5 separate regions of the Homo sapiens genome follow, and all the other regions are linked to region 5. The links are contacts of gene promoters, found by promoter capture Hi-C in blood cells and fetal thymus (Javierre and others, 2016). All regions are on one chromosome and are shown on one strand. Each heading gives the region's core, a stretch centred on a gene start or on the middle of the fragment in contact. The rest is flanking DNA. Distances are from core to core; before and after follow the strand shown. Region 1 holds the start of PPP1R8 (protein phosphatase 1 regulatory subunit 8). Region 2 overlaps FAM76A (family with sequence similarity 76 member A). Region 3 overlaps STX12 (syntaxin 12). Region 4 holds the start of SNHG12 (small nucleolar RNA host gene 12). Region 5 holds the start of EYA3 (EYA transcriptional coactivator and phosphatase 3).

Region 1 (4,140 bases), core at 326-2,825, 260 kb after region 5:
TCATCAAGATTAGTCTCATCACAGAGTAAGCAAAGAGTACTGTCCTGAGCTCTGAAACCAAATCAGAGGTGCATAATTAGGGAACTAGGGCAATTCAAAATCATGCCCCATGAAACCAGGTACCAAATGAATATGTTACCCTTGAAACAGGTCTTTCTACAACAGCATGATTAGGGGACGTTTCCTCTATATCCTACAGCCATACCATTCAAGGGAGACTCATATGTCAAAGCACCTAACGGTGCCTGGTACCTACCAGATCCTAAGGAAAGGGTAGGTGATCTCAAAAACAGTGCTTTCTAACTATGTTTGCTATCTCGGCCCAAATTTGAAATCAATACAGCGAGGGATCAAAATGGATACAGAATTTGTAGACTGAAGCAACTACTACAAAAGTGCAAAGCGATCCAGAAAATAGCCACACATTTGCTTGCTTTTTGGGTTTGCTAATTTGAAGTTAGAAAAAAGAACCACCTCACTAGAACCTTTAGATTTGCACATGAAAAAACGTATCCTTGTCTAGCTAACTGAAGATTCAACACAGTCATCTCACAATCCTGCCCCAACCCCTCCTCTATGGAAAGGACAATGCACCGGACAAAAGGCCATTTTGTCCAGGAAAAAGGAGGAATGTTACATCCAAAACATACTTTCTGAATTCCTACTATGTGCCTGACTCAGGCCTAGGAGCTGGGAATACAAAGATGCAGTCTTTGCCCTTGAGGATGGCAATACAACGGGAGACAGAGACAAGCAACAAACAATACACTGCGATGAGCTACAGCAGAAAAAAACTCTTAATTCAGAAGCGTTTCCTTGTAAGGTAATTCATATTTATTCAACTTGTACCCTACTCAAAGACCAAATTAAATTATTTCATTATTCCCAAGAACTTTCGAAGGGATAAAAAGGGTTCATGCCAACCATTACTAATGCCTACTAGTGCCACAGACTGGGAGCTCCCTGAGGGCAGGGATGGCGCTAACCTACCCTCGTATTCTCTGTGGCAGACAGACAAGTGCCGCACGAGGGATGCAGCAACCACAGAGGGATGCGGGGCTTGGAGGTAGGGTTGGGGCCGGGGCTGGCTCGAGCGCGCTCGGGACGTACAGGAAGGGGCCAGATGCGATGCTCCACGAGAGCACCAGGCACTCAGTCAAGAGTTGGGCGTAAGTTCGGGCCAAGGCCTCGAAGCGCTCCGGCGACTGGCTAATCGCTCAAAGGGGCTGCCTAAGTGAGCGCCTTTGAGCCCCCAACCCCGGGTTTCTTCAGTTCCTGGGCCTGGGCTCCAGGCTCTCGGTTCTTCAACACGTCGCCCGGCCCGGTGCAGCAAACAGTTTTTCCTCAACCATTCCGGGGTTTCTGAGCCGTTCGGCTCGCAGCAGAAAAGTAAAAAAAGAGCCGCCCTTCCAGCCCAGGCTAGCTCCGGCCGGGCCACTCTAGCCCTGGCCGCCCCGCCACTCACCAGGTTGGGCAGTCGAACAGCGGGAGGCTAGAGCCGGAGTTCGCGGCTGCCGCCATCTTGCGTCTCCCCCTCCCATTTGGCGCGCCCTAAGCACGCCGGGAAACTGGAAGACCGAGAAGGGAAAAGCGGCATCCCAGCAGCCTGTGCGTACGCACGCTCACGCACGCCCGTACGGGGGGCGGTGCTTCTAGTGGGGACAGAGGAGCTTTTGGGATTTTTTTTTTTTCAGCGTTTGTGCGAGTTGGCCGTCTCTGGAAGTCTCCAGTGGTTAGGGTTTTCCTTGGCCAGGAGGTGTCAAAGGAAAAGGGGCTTTGTAGGGAGGGGAGTCAGTCTTTCCCTACGTCCTCCTGCAAACGCTTCTTGGCTCTAAAATCTTGGGACTAAGCCGTGCGCGATGGCTCACGTCTGTAATCCCAGCACTTTCGGAGGCTGAGGCGGGCGGATCACTTGAGGTCGGGAGTTTGAGACCAGCCTGACCAACATGGTGAAACCCCGTCTCTACTAAAAATACAAAAATTAGTCGAGTGTAGTGGCACATGCCTGTAATCCCAGCTACTTGGGAGGCTAAGGCAGGAGAATCGCTTGCACTCGGGAGGCAGAGGTTGCAGTGAGCCGAGATCGCGCCATTGCACTCCAGCCTGGGCAACAGAGCGAGACTCCGTCTCAAAAAAAAAAAAAAAAAAAGTAAAGAAAGAAAAAATCTGGGGACTACATCCTCCTCCAGAGTTTAGGTTAAGACCGTCAGCCTTTTGCCCTCAAAGCGGAGAAGCTAAAGGGCAAAACTCGGAGATTGGAGTGATTATTGTTTCTCTTCAGCCCTTCTCCAAAAAGTGGCACCCTACTCACTTTTTTCTAATTCACGTTTAGGCCTGTAGATTGTCAGGGAATCTGCATTAGGGGTCACCTAGTCTGTTTATGAAAACTCTGGACAAGCAGGAGCCAGGAGCAGGTCCAGTCAGAAAGCAGGGGTCCAAATCATCACTGTGCTTGGCTCAAATGGTTAATTTTTTTAAAAAGGATTTTTTGCTTTTGGTTATAGGGCAAGGAAGCATAAGGATTGCTCGCTTGCCCTAGATCACCAGCTGGTTTTAAGAGACCATTAGCAGGGCCTCTGGTTTTTTATTTTTTATTTTTTTATTGATCATTCTTGGGTGTTTCTCGCAGAGGGGGATTTGGCAGGGTCATAGGACAATAGTGGAGGGAAGGTCAGCAGATAAACAAGTGAACAAAGGTCTCTGGTTTTCCTAGGCAGAGGACCCTGTGGCCTTCCGCAGTGTTTGTGTCCCTGGGTACTTGAGATTAGGGAGTGGTGATGACTCTTAATGAGCATGCTGCCTTCAAGCATCTGTTTAACAAAGCACATCTTGCACTGCCCTTTATCCATTTAACCCTGAGTGGAGAGAGCACAGGGTTGGGGGTAAGGTCATAGATCAACAGGATCCCAAGGCAGAAGAATTTTTCTTAGTACAGAACAAAATGAAAAGTCTCCCATGTCTACTTCTTTGTACACAGACACAGCAACCATCCGATTTCTCAATCTTTTCCCCACCTTTCCCCCTTTTCTATTCCACAAAACCGCCATTGTCATCATGGCCCGTTCTCAATGAGCTGTTGGGTACACCTCCCAGATGGGGTGGTGGCCGGGCAGAGGGGCTCCTCACTTCCCAGTAGGGGCGGCCGGGCAGAGGCGCCCCTCACCTCCTGGATGGGGCGGCTGGCCGGGCGGGGGCTGACCCCCCCCCCACCTCCCTCCTGGACGGGAGGGCCTCTGGTTTTAATGGCATTGTCTGTTCAGCAGTTACCTGGGCAAGTATGTATTTTATATGGATCATCTCACTTAATCCTGACAATACTCTTGAGTTAGGTATTATTATAATTCCAGAGGAGAGGCTTAGAGAGATTGAGTTACCCAGCTTCACCCTAGAACAAGTGGAGTGGGATCAAAAACCTAAACCTATATGATGCCGAAGGCCATGCTCATGAGTCACTATTCTCTCTTACACTTTGATGTTGGTATAATTATATTTATTATTAGCATGCAACTGATGCCCCTCTTTTTCACTTTTGTAGACGCGTTGGGAGGATTATCTGACCAGTTTTTCCTTTTTTAAATAAATCAATTGCTAAGTTCCTGTTCATCCAGAAAGAGGCACTGCTCAGCAAGTTGAGGAATCTATGATGAAAGTAGTTCTTTTCTTGCTTCCATGCTACTGGTTCTGTAGAAAATCAGCCTATTCAAAAGATTTTTGCCCTTGATGAAGTCTCCAGCCCTCAAGATTTAACTGCAATATAACTTAGAAGGAGTGAGAAGATCAAAAAAGTAACTGCAATATAACATTAACTTGGATTTTAAGATTATCAACTCTTAGGTAGACTGGAGAAACACCTTTTCCTCTGGCCTTTAAAGCACAATAAACTTATCCAGCAAGGATGGCGACTAATCAGATCACTTATCAAATGGCCTGTTAATATCCTCCTTTTCAGCCTTGTGATTCCAAAGTAAGACTAGGCTGATTGGAAAAATTCAAATTCTAAACTTGGTTTCAAGAAAACAGAAATAATCCTATGTCCCTCTCTTCTGAATACAGGGCATGATTTTTTAGAAGGAATTAGTCCCAAAAGTTTTTGAGTCTAACAGAAAAGAAGAAGATACTTTTACCTACAGAAATTGTGTG
Region 2 (4,180 bases), core at 1,572-4,071, 330 kb after region 5:
GCACTTCTCATTTTAAAACCTGCTGGCTCTAGGGTTTCAAAGGGATGCATTCCTCCCCTTCTGAGATGACATTTCAAAAAGCTTTCACTCATACTTCATGCAGATTCATTCTGTATTATATTTTGAATAATAATAATAAAAATCAAGGAACATTTGGCTGAGTGAGGTGGCTCACACTTGGGTAATCCCAGCTCTTTGGGAGGCCAAGGCGAGAGGATCACTTGAGTCCAGGAGTTCAAGACCAGTCTGGGCAACATACTGAAACCTCATCTCTACAAAAAATAAACAAAATTAGCCAGGAATGGTGGTACATGCCTGTAGTCCAAACTACTTGGAAGGCTGAGGTGGAAGGATCAATTGAGCCTGGGAGGTCAAAGGGGCAGTGAGCTGAGATCGCACCACTGTACTCTGGCCTAAGTGACAGAGACTGTCTCAAAAAATTTTTTTTGGCCAGGCACAGTGGCTCACACCTGTAATCCCAGCACTTTGGGAGGCTGAGGCGGGCGTATTACCTGAGGTCAGGAGTTCGACACCAGCCTGGCCACCATGGTGAAATCCCGTCTCTACTAAAAATACAAAAAAATTAGCTGAATGTGTTGGTGCGCCACCTGTAGTTCCAGCTACTTGGGAGGCTGAGGCTGGAGAATCACTTGATCCCAGAAGGCAGAGGTTGCAGTGAGCCGAGATCATGCCACTGCACTCCAGCCTGGGTGACAGAGCATGACTCCATTAAAAAAAAAAAAAGTTTTTTTTAAATCAAGGAACAATGGTGGTGTGGTGGTGTCCAATATTCCACTAAATGGAAGCCCCATAAGTACAATAACTTGGTTTTGTCACTGCTGTAACCGCGCTGCCTAGCACAGTGCCTATCACAACATGAGCACTTACACTGGGTAAACAGAATCACCAAGAGGCTGGGTGTGGTAGCTCATGCCTGTAATCCTAGCACTTTGGGAGGCTGATGAGGTGGGTGGATGGCTTGAGTCCAGGAGTTGGAGACCAGCCTGGATGGCAAAACCCTATCTTCACAAAAAATACAAAAATTAGCTGGGTATGGTGGCGTGCATCTGTAGTCCCAGCTACTTGGGAGGCTGAGGTGGGAGAATCCCCAGGAAGTCGGGGCTGCAGTGATCTACTTGCCACTGTACTCCAGCCTGGATGACTGAGTGAGACTCTGTCTCAAAACAGTCATAGAAGAGAGAAAGAAAGAGTTTATTCTCTAATGGACAGGAAATTCCCAATTAGCAGTTAGGCTTTTAATTTTTTAAGTCTATAAGCAAGACAAACTTTTCTAGGCTGAAGGGCTGAAGGGGATAACGGGGTATGTCTACTGGTAAACAGCAAGAAATAAAAACAAAATCCAACAATTACACTTGAGTCAATATGAATTTTTATTAACACACATTTGTCAAAGTCTGTACAAACCAAAACATTCCTGTGTTTTAAAATGTCCATTATTACAAACATACAAAGAAACAAAAGGTGTTACCAAAAGTTAGCTACTCAATTTCATGGTAAAACAGTGTCATGATTTTTAAAAATCAAAATTTCAAGACTGAGGTTTCTTCTTTCCCTTTTTGGAACTTATGGAAAGTTAGAAAACGTGTGAATTTGCTTTATATTAAATGCCAAGACCTTAAAAAAAGATTTAGTATAAAACTAAGTATGTTTTTATATTGTCATACATCATGTAACAGAATTTCAGTCCTTAAAATTAAAAAAAAACACCATGACTGTCATTTCCCCCTAATTTTTCTCCCATAGTCAATGCAAATGCATCTGAAAAATATTATGACAGTTTATCTTTACCTAAAAGCTTCTCATTCAAAAACTTTACAAAACTATTTAGCACTGCCATTTCCCTTGCTTAGAAGGGAAAATTATATCCCCTAGTAGGGTGATATATAAGCGACATGGTCCACTGTATCCCTTATCAGAAGGAAACCACCATTTCCACATCTCTGTCCAATTATGTGTAGGACTCCATTTATGAGAATGCTATCACAAATTATAGAGCATCTGCTTCCAGGAAACGCCTAGAAGTTAAATTTAGTACTATAATTTTTTGGTAGACTGAGGTACAAATGTTATCTGCCCTCATTATTATTTCTAACTCTAGTACCCCCTGCATAAATGATTCTAGGGTAGTTGGTTTTGTTGTTTCATGGCACACATGACACACCCTAATTCCTTTCACAAACATCACATAGAGGACCTGAGAGTATGCCTAGAAATGTAAATCTATCCCCTTTCCTGGAAAAGTAAATCCATATTCCTACAGGGTTAAGAAGGGAAGATAGGCAGGGCATACATAACTCTGGTTGAGGCAAAGTGCTTCTGAGAAGCACCTGTTTTCAATACATATCCATGAAAAGCAGGGAGTGTATGGGCTCGGGTGGGTGAGGAGTGGGGAGAAGGTATAGTGATACCACTTTTCCCAGACTCAAGAGTCCTTACTAGAGCAGCTCATGCTGACCCCAAAAATGCTCTGTAGTTCAAATATTATTCCTTTTTTTTTTTTTTTTGAGACGGAGTCTCACTCCATTGCCCAGGCTGCAGTGCAGTGTTGCGATTTCAGCTCATTGCAACCTCTGCCTCCCGGGATTCGAGCAGTTCTCCTGCCTCAGCCTCCTGGGTAGCTGGGATTACAGGTGCATGCCACCAGGCCCGGCTAATTTTTGTATTTTTTTAGTACAGATGGGGTTTTACCATGTTGGCCAGGATGGTCTCAAACTCCTAACCTCAAATGATCCACCCGCCTTGGCCTCCCAAATTGCTGGTATTACAGGCGTGAGCCACCGCACCCGACCATATTATTCCATTTTTAATCTGTTCATTCATGTAAAAAAACATTCTCTGACAGCAGCCCAGTATGACAACTGATATAAGCAAATAAAGGATTTTATTTTTTAAAGAAGTGGCAGTGTGAGAATTTAAAATCAATCACATAAAACAATCAGGAAAGGGGTGGGGAGAGAAGTGTCCAGTACAACCTGGACAACCTTGCTTTCTGCCCTTACTTAAAAAGACAGACGGTTCAAATCTTTGCTACCTCCCTTAAGTATCTCCATAAATGCTCTTCCAAGAAATCCTCCAAAAGGCACTTAGCTCCATACTTATGCATTGAATTGTTTCACCTTAGCAATCAGTTTTTAAGACTCCAAGGTAACAAGAAAGAAAAGATCTGATTCTTTTACTAAAAGCTAGTGAATAGGACTGTTTTTTTTTCAAGAGGCATCACTTTTACAAGAACTAGCTAGACCACCATTATTCCTTTATCAAGAAAAAGTTTCTTTTTTAAAAAATAAATAAAACTCTGGCTATACATAGTACAAAGTTCATACATAATACATCTGGAAAAAAACCGAAGAGTATACCCTGAAGCAAAAGGTTTATTGGAGAGAGAAAGCCTCTTCCATTATACCAAGTCTGAAGATGGCAGTTTTCAAAGTTCAGAGGGTGGCAGTGATATATAATTAATGCCAAACTGTTTGCTCATGGGTATGGCAGGATGCAATGAAGGACCAAAAAAAAAAAAAAAAACAAAAAACAAATCATTCTGCACATTACACTGAGCAGTGACCACCACAAAAAAAAAAAAAAAAAAAAAAAGAAAAAAGAAAAAAAAAGAATAGAACCAAAATAGAGAGAAGAGGAAGAAGAAAAAGAAAAGTCCTAATAGTGAGAGAAAGAGAGCGAGCTTGAAATCCCAAACACTCAAGCATGCAGTCTAACACAGCACAAACCAGGTGTTTCCATTCAGCCCACTGCAATCGCACAAAGAAGGATAACTGTAATAAAATAGAGATTTCTTAAGAAAGCTTGCAATTCCCACAGAACAGCCAGGTCTCCAACCCTAACCCTGGACAACTCCATTTGCTGTTGCTAGGGAGCCTCCTTGAGGTCTGTCATGGAGAGGTTATAGCTCCTGACTTCTCTGACTTCTTGCTCTTGGACAAAGCAGCTGCCTGCTTCAGGAGCTCTCGGTTTTTGGCCTAAAGAAAAAAAAAATCAGTGCAAGAAGGATGTTTCAAACAGGATATAAGCTATTTTTCATGCAGAGTAAGTGCAGATGCTAAGGCAGACAATGTGGAGGGTCAGAAAGAGATGAACAATTCTAGAGGTGGAAAACAACAGGAAGCTCTAGGGCTTGAAACTTGGTTCAGGAGAAAAAAGTATT
Region 3 (3,957 bases), core at 500-2,999, 280 kb after region 5:
TTTATTTTCAAGAAGGCTGCTTCAAATCGTGGCAGATTTTGATTTAACAGAACTTATTGGGAACTATTATTCTGTATATTATTTTGTTTAATTCTTACAATAACTCTGATTTATCATAGTCTCCTCTTTGGCATATAATAACGTTTTTGAAAAATAGTCTTTCCAATGGTAATTTATCTAATACTATTGAATTAAGAAAGTTAGGCAAGCATATAGTGCTACTTTAAAAGAGAATTCACCAGGATTTTTGGCATTTGGTGAAAGACTAGCAATCGAATCTTTCAGGTGTTACTGTTTGATGAGGAAAAAGTATGCTTTATAATCAAGCTGTAAGAATAAATATCATTATTATTAAAAAATCAGTCTAATGGATGTATTACTTTTATAATTTAAAAACAGGCTGGGTGCGGTGGCTCATGCCTGTAATCCCAATCCCAGCACTTTGAGAGGCCGAGGTGGGCAGATCACTTTGAGGTCAGGAGTTTGTGACCAGCCTGGCCAACATGGTGAAACCCCGTCTCTACTAAAATACAAAAATTAGCCAGGCATGGTGGTGGGTGCCTGTAATCCCAGCTACTCGAGAGGCTAAGGCAGGAGAATTGCTTGAACCTAGAAGGCAGAGGTTGCAGTGAGCCAAGATCGTGCCACTGCACTACAGCCTGAGTGACAGAGTGAGACTCCCTCTCAGAATAAATAAATAAATAAATAAATAAATAAATAAATAAATAAATAAAAAACAAAGCAAAAATGGTAAAAATCAATGTATTTTCATTTTTAAAAAGCTTACCCTTTTTATAATAGCAATACAGGACAAGCAAAATGAAAAGAATTTCAAATTTCTATCCACTCAGAGGAACACTGTGGGTTTTTGGTTTGTTTTTTTCTTTTTACTTTATCTTTTTCCCCAGATCAAGAAATAACATTGCCAGAGTCCTAAAAGCCTACTCATGTGCCCTTCTCCAATCACAACTCCATCCCTCCCTTTTAAAGTATCTATTATCTTGACTTTGTGAAAATCATTTTCTTGCATTTTAAGAATAGTGAGCTATATTCTTATTCAATATCATTTTGCCTGTTTTTGAACTTTACATAAATGGAATTATACTGTTTATATTCTTTAGTGCTTTTTTTGAATCATTCCAGATTATGCCAGATCCATCTCTGATACTGAATGTAACTGTGGTTCAATCATTTTCTTTGCTGTATGATATTATAGTATATGAACATAACACAATTTATCCATTCTACAGTTGACAGACATCTGGATGTTTCCAATTTTTGACTACTACAAACAATGCTGCTATGCACATTCTTGTACATACATCCTGGTATAACACATACAGGTTTCTCTAGGGTAGAATTGCTGGATCACAAGGTCTGCATGTGTTCTGAAGATACAGCCAAAATGTTTTCCAAAGTAGTTGTTCTAACTTATACCACCGGCCAGATAAAAAAGTTCCTGTTGCATCATATCCATAATGACAACTCCCAGTGTTCACAGAATTTTAAACTTCTGCCCTCCTGGTGGGCATGAAATAGTATTTCATTGTTATTTTAATCTGTAATTTCACCATTACTAAAGAAGCTGAGTACCTTTTCATTTGTTTGACCATTACTCAAAATAATACTAACGTGTTTATTTGCTCCATGAGTGTAAATATCAACAGGACGGAGCAAAAGCAATGGTGGGGGACTGGTGGCGGGGAAGTGGGGATGGTTAATGGGCACAAAAAATAGGAAGAATGAATAGGACCTAGTATTTGATAGCACAAATGGGTGACTATCGTCAATAATAATTTAATTATATATTCAAAAATAACTAAAAGAGTATAATTGAATTGTCTGTAACATAAAGGATAAATGCTTGAGGGGATAGACACCCCATTTACCATGGTGTAATTATTACACATTACATGACTATATGAAAGTATCTCATGTACCTCATAAATATATACACCTACCATGTGCCCACAAAAATTAAAAATTAAAAAAAGGCAATGGTAGTGATATGGTTTGGCTCTATGTCCCCACTCAAATCTCGTCTCGAATTGTAATCCCAACGTGCGAAGGGAGGGACCTGGTGGGAAGTGATTGGATCATGGGGGTGTTAGTGTTCACGTGTTAGTGAGGGAGTTCTCATGAGATCCGGTTGTTTGGTAAGTGTCTGGTATTTCCCCTGCACTCTCTTTCTCTTTCTCCTGCCACCATGTAAGACATGCCTTGCCTCCCCTTAGCTTTCTACCATGGTTGTAAGTTTCCTGAGGCCTATCCAGCCACGCAGAACTGTGAGTCAATTAAACCTCTTTTATTTATAAAGTATCCAGTCTCAGGTAGTATCTTTATAGCAGTGTGAAAATGGACTAATACAGATAGATAAAATGGCTGAAGGCAGTGGCACCGAATTGCACTAGTATTATTGTATTCTTCATCACCACACACTCACCGTATTTTAAAAGCCAATGTATTCTTGAAGCCATACAAATTATTAATTAAACCTTGACCCCTCAATACATATCTTTCTACTATTCTGTATTGTGAAATGGGAAGTGCACATAAAGTACTTCTGCTGCATAAAGAAATACAATGTCTGTCTCTAGGAAAAGCACTTGTGTAATGGAACTGCAGGCTGAACTAGCCACTTTTTTTAGGGAATACCATTTTTACTTATTCAATATAGTTTTATAAGAACTTACTAAAAACTTATTTAAAAGCTTTAAAACTTTCATAAACGTATACATATAAACTTTTCAGATGGGTATTTGGCAGACAACTTGTTGAAAAGAAGTATGAGCCTGTCACTTCAAGGAAAACAACAGAGGGTGTTTGTTGCCAATGACAAAAATGTAGCTTTCAAGTAAAAATAAAAATAAAATTTCGGAAGACTTGTATCTACCATTGTAAGAGTTTCCCAATATTTAAATACTTTTCTGGTGAAACTGATGGAAATATGTATTTTTTTATATTGTAAAATGAAATGTATCGACATTTGGAAGAGCTGCATAACTCAGGGAACCAATACTATCCAAATGATAAATACATGATGCTATAAAAATCATGCATGGATAAAAGATCCAATCAAAGTATAATATAGACCAACAGATGTTAATGTAACAGAGTATGAAGTCATTATAATGGTTTTAGATTGTACAATGCAACTAACTTTTGTCAAGTTTTGATGTAGTATCAAAGAAGAGTATCAACAAGGTTATAAAAATATTCCTTTTCCAATTGTATATTTCTGCTAGCTTGGATTTTCTTCAGATACTTCAACCAGAACAATCTATCATAATAGACTGAATACAGAAGCAGATATAATCCTAGACGAAAAAAGCTGAGAGAGTTCATCACCACTACACCTGCCTCACAAGAAGTGCTAAAGGGAGTTCTTCAAGCTGAATGAAAAGCATAATAATTAGTAACATGAAAACATATGAAAGTATAACATTCACTGGTAAAAGTAAGTAAATAGTCAAATTCAGAATATTCTAATACTGTAATGGTGTTATATAAATCATTTACATCTTTAGTATGGAGGTTAAAAAACAAAAGCAGCTATGAAAATCTAGCTGCCTTCTGGTAAGCCAGACATTAAAATAAAAAAAATTTGCAAAAATGAAAATAATGCTACTCTGCCCACTAATTTTTTTTCTTGGAAACACAATTTTTTAAAATGAAAAATCTAATTTAATTCCTTCTTTCCCCATGTGCATAAAAAATCTAATTTATATTCATGTTAATATGTAATAAGTGTATTATTTGTAAATGAATAAACAAACATCTAAAATTTTTCTCAGTTTTAATTTCTAATACAGTATACATCAATAGATATGACTCATATAAACAAAACTTCTTTGGGGTCTGATATGGTTTGGCTCTGTGTCCCCACCCAAATCTCACCTTGAATTGTAATAATCCCCACGTGTCAAGGGCGAGACCAGATGGACAAAACTGAAGCAT
Region 4 (4,114 bases), core at 503-3,002, 490 kb before region 5:
GTCTTGAACTCCTGATCTCGTGACCCACCCGCCTTGGCCTCCCAAAGTGCTGGGATTACAGGCATGAGTTACTGTGCCTGGCCTTATTTATTTTTAAAGGCAGGGTCTCACTTTGTTGCCCAGGCTGACCTCCAGCTCCTGGACAGAAGTGATCCTCCTGTTTCAGCTTCCCAAGTAGCTGGACTACAGGTGATCCACTGCATCTGCCTTAATATAATATGTATATCTATCTATCTATATATACACACACATAGATATAGATAGATATATATAGATATATTTTTTGAGAGGGAGTCTCGCTGTATCACCCAGGCTGGAGTGCAGTGGCATGATCTTGGCTCACTGCAACCTCTGCCTCCCAGGTTCGAGCGATTCTTATGCCTTAGCCTCCCAAGTAGCTGGGACTGTAGATGAGTGTCACCATGCCTGGGTAATTTTTTTTTTTTGTATTTTTAGTAGAGATGGGGTTTTGTCATGTTGGCCAGGCTGGTCTCTAGTTCCTGATGTCAGGTAATCCACCTGCCTTGGCCTCCCGAATTGGTGGGAGCTACTGCGCCTGGGAGATATACATTTTTTCTTAATGGTTTTTTGACAGCTTTATTGAGGCATAATTGACACAGAATAAACTGCACAAGCCTGGGCGAAAAAGCGAGACTTCATCTCCAAAAAAAAAAAAAAAAGTTTAATAATTTTACTTTTTTTCTTTTTTTTTTGAGACGGAGTCTCGCTCTTGTCGCCCAGGCTGGAGTGTAATGGCTCCATCTTAGCTCACTTCAACCTCCGCTTCCCAGGTTCAAACGATTCTCCTGCCTCAGCCTCCCAAGTAGCTGGGATTACAGGCGCCTGCCACCACGCCCAGCTAATTTTTGTATTTTTAGTAGAAACGGGTTTTCACCATGTTGGCTAGGCTGGACTTGAAATCCTGACCTCAGGTTATCTGCCCCCTCGGACTCCCAAAGTGCTGGAATTACAGGTGGGAGCCACCGCGCCCAGCATAATTATTAAGCTTTTAAAGCGTAAACAAACGGCCGGGCGCGGTGGCTCGTGCCTGTAATCCCAGCACTTTGGGAGGCCGAGGCGGGTGGATCACGAGGTCAGGAAATCGAGACCATCCTGCCCAACATGGGGAAACCCTGTCTCTACTAAAAATACAAAAAATTAGCCGGGCGTGGTGGCGGGCGCCTGTAATCCCAGCTACTTGGGAGGCTGAGGCAGGAGAATGGCGTGAACCCGGGAGCGGGAGCTTGCAGTGAGCTGAGATGGCGCCACTGCACTCCAGCCTGGGCGACAGAGCAGCTCCGTCTCAAGAAAAAAAAAAAAAAGCATAAACTACAAAAAAAAAAATTGACTCTTAGACTTCATAAAAATTAAAAAACTTTTAGCAGGCTGGCTGGCGTGTGGAGACCAGACTGTCGGGAGCAACAGCAGGATCTGGGAGATAAGAGACTATTGCTATCATCTGGGTCAACGATTAGGGTAACATCAGTGGAAGGGGTAAGAAACAGTCAGATTATTGATACATTTTAAAGGTAGAGCACACAGGAGTTGCTGATGGCTTGGACATGTGATGTTAGAGAAAGAGAGGAGTCCAGGACCACAGGCATGCGCCCCCACGACCTGCTAAAGTAGTACTTACTTTTTATTTTATTTTATTTTTTTGAGACAGAGTCTCGTTCTGTTGCCCAGGCTAGAGTGCAGTGACGCGATCTCGGCTCTCTGCAAGCTCCGCCTCCCGGGTTCACGCCATTCTCCTGCCTCAGCCTCCCGGGTAGCTGGGACTACAGGCGCCCGCGACCACGCCCGGCTAATTTTTTTTTGTATTTTTTTTTAGTAGAGACCGGGTTTCGCCGTGTTAGCCAGGATGGTCTCGATCTCCTGACCTCGTGATCCACCCGCCTTGGCCTCCCAAAGTGCTGGGATTACAGGCGTGAGTAACCGCACCCGGCAGTAGTACCTACTTTTTAAAGTGTAAGCAAGGAAAGTTGGCCCGCACCTGTAGTCCCATCTACCTGGGAGGCTGAGGTGGAAGAATTGCTTGAGCCCAGTTGGTCGAGGCTGCAATGAGCCTTGATCACGCCACTGCACTCCAGCCTGGGCAACAGAACAAGACCCTGTCTCAAACAAAAAAGTGTATGTAAGAATAAAAATTAATAGATTAGGCACAGGATGGGTGTTTAATTCTCGGCAATCACCACTAAGTTTTCATACTGAGGCTTATTCATTCCATGGGCAAAACATTGCGCTATGTGTGGTGCCTGGGGTGGGCTCCAAATTCCAGTCCTCTCCTCGCTTGCGATAGCTGTGTGATCCATTCCTAAGTTTCCTTATTTGTCCACAGAGCGTACACAGGGTTTTTATGAAAACTAGATCAGATAATCAGACACAGTTAAAATAGCACGCGCTCAGTAAAATTACATATTAGTGGAAGAGACAAGCCTTGAATAAATCGCCTTTCGGGGAGTATGACCCCCTCCCCGAAACCCACTCAGGCGCTGCTCGCTCGCACGCCCACTGAGCTCGGAGCGGAGCCCGAGCCCTTTCCCAGCACACAGGGTTCATTTCCAGACTGAAAGACATCCCAGAGACAACTCCAGAGGCCAAGGCGGGTCGGCTTCCTGCGTGGGCCCAGCGCCGGGCACTGAAAGGTGAAGGCGCTTCTTCCGCTCGGAGGAAAGCCTCTGGCGGTTCTCGCTTCGCGGGCTCGGGATGGACACGCGCGTAGGGCTGGGGAGGTGACGCGCGGACAACGCCGGGGCGAGCAAACTACAACTCCCAGGCAGCTGTGCGCCACGCGGGCGGCCTACTGTCGGGTGTGGCCGCGAGGGGCGGCCTATATAAGCTCTTGCTCGCGGCTTCAGCGCCCTTTCTCCCCGCCGCATTCCCGGTGTCGACTTACTAGCTGCAAGCCTCTGCCTGCCTTCCTGCGCGCCGTTCCCCGCTAGTCGCTGCTGCTGGCGCGCACTCGCCGGGTTTTTCCTCCCACGGCCTCGAGATGGTGGTGAATGTGGCACGGAGGAGCCGGGCCTTCCAACCCGGTGGGCCCGAGCTCCGAAAGGCCCCCTCGGCAGTGAGAGGGGCGGGAGCCCGCGGGGGCCGCGCCCTTCTCTCGCTTCGGACTGCGCAACGCTGCGCTCTGGGCTGACAGGTGAGTGTTGCAGGCAGGCGGCCGGGTTTACGGAAGGGGTGGGGGTTTGGGAACCGGTCTCCTGGGGGATGCGGGGATGAATCCCTGGGCCTGAAGTGTCTTAATTCAGGGGGAGGCCGCATGCTGGTGTCAGGATGGCCTCCAGTTGAATCTGTGACATTTACCAGCTAGGTGATTTTGGGACTGGTGACTACGCGCGAGACCTCTGGAGGTCGCCCTGGTAGACACGGTTTTCAGAAGGACGGGTTTTAGGCATTCAGACCCTTGCGTGCATCCCAGCTTGTTGCTTTCAGCCTCGCTAAGTGACTAAGCGACCTTCAGGAAGTAACTTAATCGGTCTAAACCTCTTACCTGTAATAGGCGGATAAAACGGTCCCATCAAGACTGAGAAAAAGCACACCAGCTATTGGCACAGCGTGGGCAGTGGGGCCTACAGGATGACTGACTTAGTCTACAGAGATCCCGGCGTACTTAAGCAGGTAGTAATGATGGACAGGTGAGGCTTTAGGCGGCCGCCCTGGGATCTGAATTGCCCCTTGGCCCTTATCGAAGCTGCAGCTGCTTCCGCATAGCTGCTGTGGTCAAAAAGGAGCCCAGAGTGACAGTTTTCCTTGACGGTCGCCGTTCTGTTTGTTGTAACTGATCTGCAACATTTTGGGAAAATACAGTTCCATTGTACCTGCCACCTTTCAGCTGTAGCCAGAGACCTTTATCAAAATGGGCTTGTTTCCACAGAACAGCAGAACGGTTGGGGGTTTGCATGTACAGTTAACCAGCATAAGACTCGTACTGGGAAAATCCAGCTGGGATGTGACACAGCTTAACTGATAGCTTAAGGCATCAGTATTGGGACCAAAGGCTGGTCAGATTTGTATCATTCTGAGGACCAAATGATGGGAACAATAAAATTGTTCATGACAGTTGTTCTCATTTTGCTGTCCAGATGAAGACTCTTAAGATGACAGAAGG
Region 5 (3,949 bases), core at 1,189-3,688:
GAATGATGCAGGTATCTGGGGGAAGAGCACTCCAGGCAGATGGATTAAAAAGCACAAAGGCCCTGGGCCTACCTGTAGTTTTGAGGAATGGCAGAGGCCAATGTGCTTTAAGGGGAAGGATGACAGAAGGAGTAGGAGTTGAGGTTAGAGCAGAGCTGTACTGGAGGTGTCAAATCTTGAGGGTCCTGTAGACCAATGTAAGGATTTTGGTTTTTACTCTGAAATAGGAATGCATTGGAGGAAGGATATGATCTAATTAGGGTTTTAACAGGAGCCCATTGCTACTATATTAATAGATTGTGGGGGCCGGGCGTGGAGGCTCACACCTGTAATCCCAGCACTTTGGGAGGCTGAGGCGGGTGGATCACTTGAGGCCAGGAGTTCAAGACCAGTCTGGCCAACATGGCAAAACCCCGTCTCTACTAAAAATATAACAATTAGCCGCGCGTGCTGGCGGGCCCCTGTAATCCCAGCTATTCAGGAGGCTGAGGCAGGAGAACCCAGGAGGCAGAGGTTGCACTGAGCCAAGATCAGGCCAGTACACTCCAGCCTGGGTGACAGAGGGAGGCTCTGTCTGAAAAAAAAAAAAAAAAAAAGATTGTGGGAAGGCAAGAGTATAAATAGGGCACTCACAGTCACTGACTGACTGGTTTATACCAACGGAGGCAGTAAATGGTCAGGTTCTGGACAGATTTTGAAGGCAAATCTTGCAGAACTTGCTGATGGAGTACATGTGGGATATGAGAGAGGAGTTAAGGATCTTAGTAAATGATGTTGCTTAGTACATTGTTGTCATCGGAAGAGGTGATCAAATATACAGTCAAAAAATGTAGAAAAAATAGTTTTTTTTCTGGATTTTGTTATTCGTGGTATTTGTGAGCTAATAAAAATGTTTGTAATTTTTCTCATTATAAAAGGTTCACTTTTATATCTAATATTGTATTTGTAATTTTGGATTTTTTTTTTTTTTAGACAGTCTCGCTCTGTTGCCCAGGCTGGAGTGCAGTGGCATAATCATAACTCACCGCAGCCTCTACCTCCTGGGCTCAGTTAGGTGCGTGCCACCACACCTGGCTAATTTTTCTGGGTTTTTTTTGTTGTTGTTTTGCTTTGTTTGTTTTGTAGAGACAGGGTCTAATTTTGTTGCCCAGGTGATCTCCAACTCCGGGGCTCAAGCAACCGGTCGACCTCGGCGTCCCAAAGTGCTAGGATTTCAGGCATGAGCCACTGTGCCTGGCCTTGATTATTTTAAAGAGGGCCCCCAAATTGAATAAACGTCAAGTCTCCACAAAGCCTGAATTCAACCTTGCTTCTAGCCCATACTTGGGTTGTAATTTAAAATTAACGAAACATTTAAGAATTTTGCTTCCGAAAACAGTGTGCACGAAGTGAATTGTAAGCCTAATATAATATTAAGAATAAACTAAATTTGGGGATAAAAAGATCACCTTGGGGCTCACGCCTGTAATCCCAGCACTTTGGGAGGCCAAGGGATCAACCGAGCTCCAGAGTTGGAGACCAGCCTGGGCAACATGGCGAAACCCCGTCTCTACCGAAAAATACAAAAATTAGCCGGGCGTGGTGGTGCGCGCCGGTAGTCTTAGCTACTCGGGAGGCTGAGGTGGGAGGATCACTTGAACCCAGGAGGCGGGGGTTGCAGTGAGCCGAGATCGCGCCACTGCACTCCAGCCTGGGCGACAGAGCAAGACTCTGTCTCAAAAAAAGAAAAAAAAAAAGGGATGGGCGCGGTGGCTCACGCCTGTAATCTCAGCACTTTGGGAGGCCCAGGCGGGCGGATCACCTGAGGTCGGGAGTTCAAGACCAGCCTGACCAACATGGAGAAACCCCGTCTCTACTAAAACTACAAAATTAGCCGGGCGTGGTGGCACATGCCTGTAATCCCAGCTACTCGAAAGGCTGAGGCAGGAGGATCGCTTGAACCCGGGAGGCGGAGGTTGCAGTGAGCCGAGATCGCGCCATTGCACTCCAGCCTGGGCAACAAGAGCGAAACTCCGTCTCAAAAAAAAAAAAAAAAAAAGATCACCTTGGGCTAGCCTCCCAAATGTCTTCCAAAACTTCCCACTCATTCTCCTTCCCAGTTTTTCTAAATCTACCAAATGCACCCAACACTTCTTACGTTCCTTTTAGCCAGGTAGGGATTACGCGCATTTTTAAAGACCTCCTTAAAAGTGAAGGCTGTAGTACCGTCAGGACTGCCTAGCGCTCACCCAGAAGCTGCTTGTCTCCGAGGCACTAAGAGGGGCGTGGCCATGGGCGTGGCTCGCCGGGCCGGCGGAGTGGGCGGAGCCTAAAAGCTTCCCCGCCCGGTCAGACTCAACACATGCGCCCAGAGGTTTCTAGTGGAACGAGGTGTGGATTGTGAGGTGACTCTGGCCGCTTACTTCCGGTTCCTAGCGATGCGCATCCGGGTCACGCTAACGCCGCGGTTTCCTCCGCTCGATTGGTTCTACTGTGGGTCTGGACTGATCTCCATGTCCTGTTGTGGGGCTTTTACAGCCTTTGGGTGAGTCTCAGCTGCCAACAGGGTCTGAGCGCAGCCGGGCGAGCACAGCGTGAAGGGGGATGGGTCTAGAGTTCTGCCTCGGTCCTTGTGGGTGGGAGTCTCTTCGCCTGTCCCTTGTCACTGCAGTGCTTCACTCACCTCAGCCCTTTCCTTCACGCTGGCCTCGCCTTATTCACCTCAGCTTAGCCTTCTCGCGCTTCCGTGCCTCTGTCGCCTCGCTGTTTTTCCTCAGCCTCATCAGTCCTTTTCCAACCTCGGTTTCTTGCCTTACGCCTCAGCGCTTCTCTCAGCCACTGCCTCTCCTTTTTTCTCCTCCTCCCTTCTTTTAGAACCTCTTTTCCCCTACCCCTGATCTGGGATCTCAGCGTTCTTTCACCTAGCGAGACGGCCCAGCTTCTCATTGTGCTCACTCTTCACCACGAGAAACTGAGCCTCTCCCTAGGGTCCTAGTTCCTTGTCCCCCAACTTTCTTCAGCTTTGATCCTTCCTCCTGGGACCAGTAGGTGACAGTGCTTCTCCTGGGGTTCTTCTGCCTGTCCTTAGCTAGAGGAGAGCTTTGCCAAAGCCCCGAAATGGGAAGACTTCCCCAGCCTGGGGGAAGTTTTGCCTTAAGGCGCCGGGTTAGACTGAACTCTGGTAGCTTCCATAGTTAGGGTACAACAAAGGCGTTCCTAGTTCTTCGCTTTACCTCAGTTTTGGGGCTCTCTCAAGAGCAGCTAACAGGTGGCAGGCACACGGTACTGCTAGCAGTTGGGCTGGCGCGATCTTGTTAATTGACAAGTCATGAAGAAGTTCTGTCAGTTTTGTGTTCCCATGAGAATGGATGTGCACAGCTGAGGCAAAAACGCCAATATTTTGGGACGTTCAGCTCTGTTTTCGGCATGGACGCTTCTTACAGGACACTTGTGATGATAGAGGACAGAATTTGTGGAGAGATCATTAGCCCCAGATTTATGAATTTATTGTGTTGTTTCCGAAAAGTGGTCTGCTGAAGAGTTCACTATAGTAATTTCAAAGTAATCTTTAAACTTAGTATGCACATATGCATTTTTTCATTTTTACTGTATTAAGTTTTCTATTTGTCTTCCTCTTCCTTCATTAGCCAGACTTTACTTAGAATTACATTACTTAGAAGTACATTACTTAGAATATTCTTCTAACTTTTGTATTTTTTTTTCCTTACCATTTCCACCTTTGTAGTAAAACTATCATTTTCTCATTTTGAGATTTAGGGCACCTTTCTTAAATTTCCCTAGAGGTTTAAAGTCATTTATAACATGAAGGAATTGCATTTAATAATGGTTAGTGCTCCCTTTCCCAAATTTTGTGATCTAGAGTATAGGCTTGGGTAATCTTTATTTTTTCCCGATGTTTATAGTGTATATCTAGCACTTGATTGCAGCGGTTTTTGTGTCATCAGTTTCT

Evidence for each region. The method cuts DNA at HindIII sites, captures the fragments that hold promoters and counts their contacts. A CHiCAGO score of 5 or more calls a contact.
Region 1: the fragment with the promoter of PPP1R8 here is called in contact with the fragment with the promoter of EYA3 in region 5 in 1 of 17 cell types (M2 macrophages); the score reaches 5.8 in M2 macrophages.
Region 2: a fragment that was not itself captured here is called in contact with the fragment with the promoter of EYA3 in region 5 in 2 of 17 cell types (M2 macrophages and M1 macrophages); the score reaches 5.5 in M2 macrophages.
Region 3: a fragment that was not itself captured here is called in contact with the fragment with the promoter of EYA3 in region 5 in 2 of 17 cell types (M2 macrophages and M1 macrophages); the score reaches 7.5 in M2 macrophages.
Region 4: the fragment with the promoter of SNHG12 here is called in contact with the fragment with the promoter of EYA3 in region 5 in 13 of 17 cell types (fetal thymus, non-activated CD4 T cells, activated CD4 T cells and 10 more); the score reaches 16.2 in fetal thymus.

The regions. Positions count from the first base shown.
Region 1 is chr1:27,828,217-27,832,356 of GRCh38, reverse strand. It overlaps PPP1R8 (protein phosphatase 1 regulatory subunit 8), which reads right to left and starts at 1,575. Exons shown (of 7, transcript NM_014110.5): 1 at 1,466-1,575. The coding sequence starts at 1,521. It overlaps LOC124903885 (a long non-coding RNA gene), which reads left to right and starts at 574. Exons shown (of 2, transcript XR_007065562.1): 1 at 574-1,608; 2 at 3,536-4,140. RefSeq lists enhancers at 526-1,310, 1,268-1,437, 1,311-2,096 and a silencer at 1,568-1,647. The HindIII fragment of the contact is 9,216 bases long and covers 1-4,140 here.
Region 2 is chr1:27,760,310-27,764,489 of GRCh38, reverse strand. FAM76A (family with sequence similarity 76 member A) reads right to left here. Exons shown (of 9, transcript NM_152660.3): 9 at 1,374-3,995. The coding sequence ends at 3,909. Among named protein-coding and RNA genes, the nearest start is that of STX12, 11 kb to the left of the region's middle. The HindIII fragment of the contact is 2,005 bases long and covers 1,819-3,823 here.
Region 3 is chr1:27,805,089-27,809,045 of GRCh38, reverse strand. The region is part of intron 4 of STX12 (syntaxin 12); the gene reads right to left. Among named protein-coding and RNA genes, the nearest start is that of PPP1R8, 24 kb to the left of the region's middle. RefSeq lists an enhancer at 1,332-1,855. The HindIII fragment of the contact is 1,929 bases long and covers 785-2,713 here.
Region 4 is chr1:28,580,621-28,584,734 of GRCh38, reverse strand. SNHG12 (small nucleolar RNA host gene 12) reads left to right here and starts at 1,752. Exons shown (of 6, transcript NR_146382.1): 1 at 1,752-2,645; 2 at 3,506-3,624; 3 at 4,089-4,114. SNORA16A (small nucleolar RNA, H/ACA box 16A) reads left to right here and starts at 3,682; the gene lies at 3,682-3,815. RefSeq lists enhancers at 2,585-3,370, 3,371-4,114. The HindIII fragment of the contact is 3,732 bases long and covers 1,009-4,114 here.
Region 5 is chr1:28,087,099-28,091,047 of GRCh38, reverse strand. It overlaps EYA3 (EYA transcriptional coactivator and phosphatase 3), which reads left to right and starts at 2,438. Exons shown (of 18, transcript NM_001990.4): 1 at 2,438-2,524. RefSeq lists enhancers at 2,499-2,568, 2,779-2,838. The HindIII fragment of the contact is 6,678 bases long and covers 2,318-3,949 here.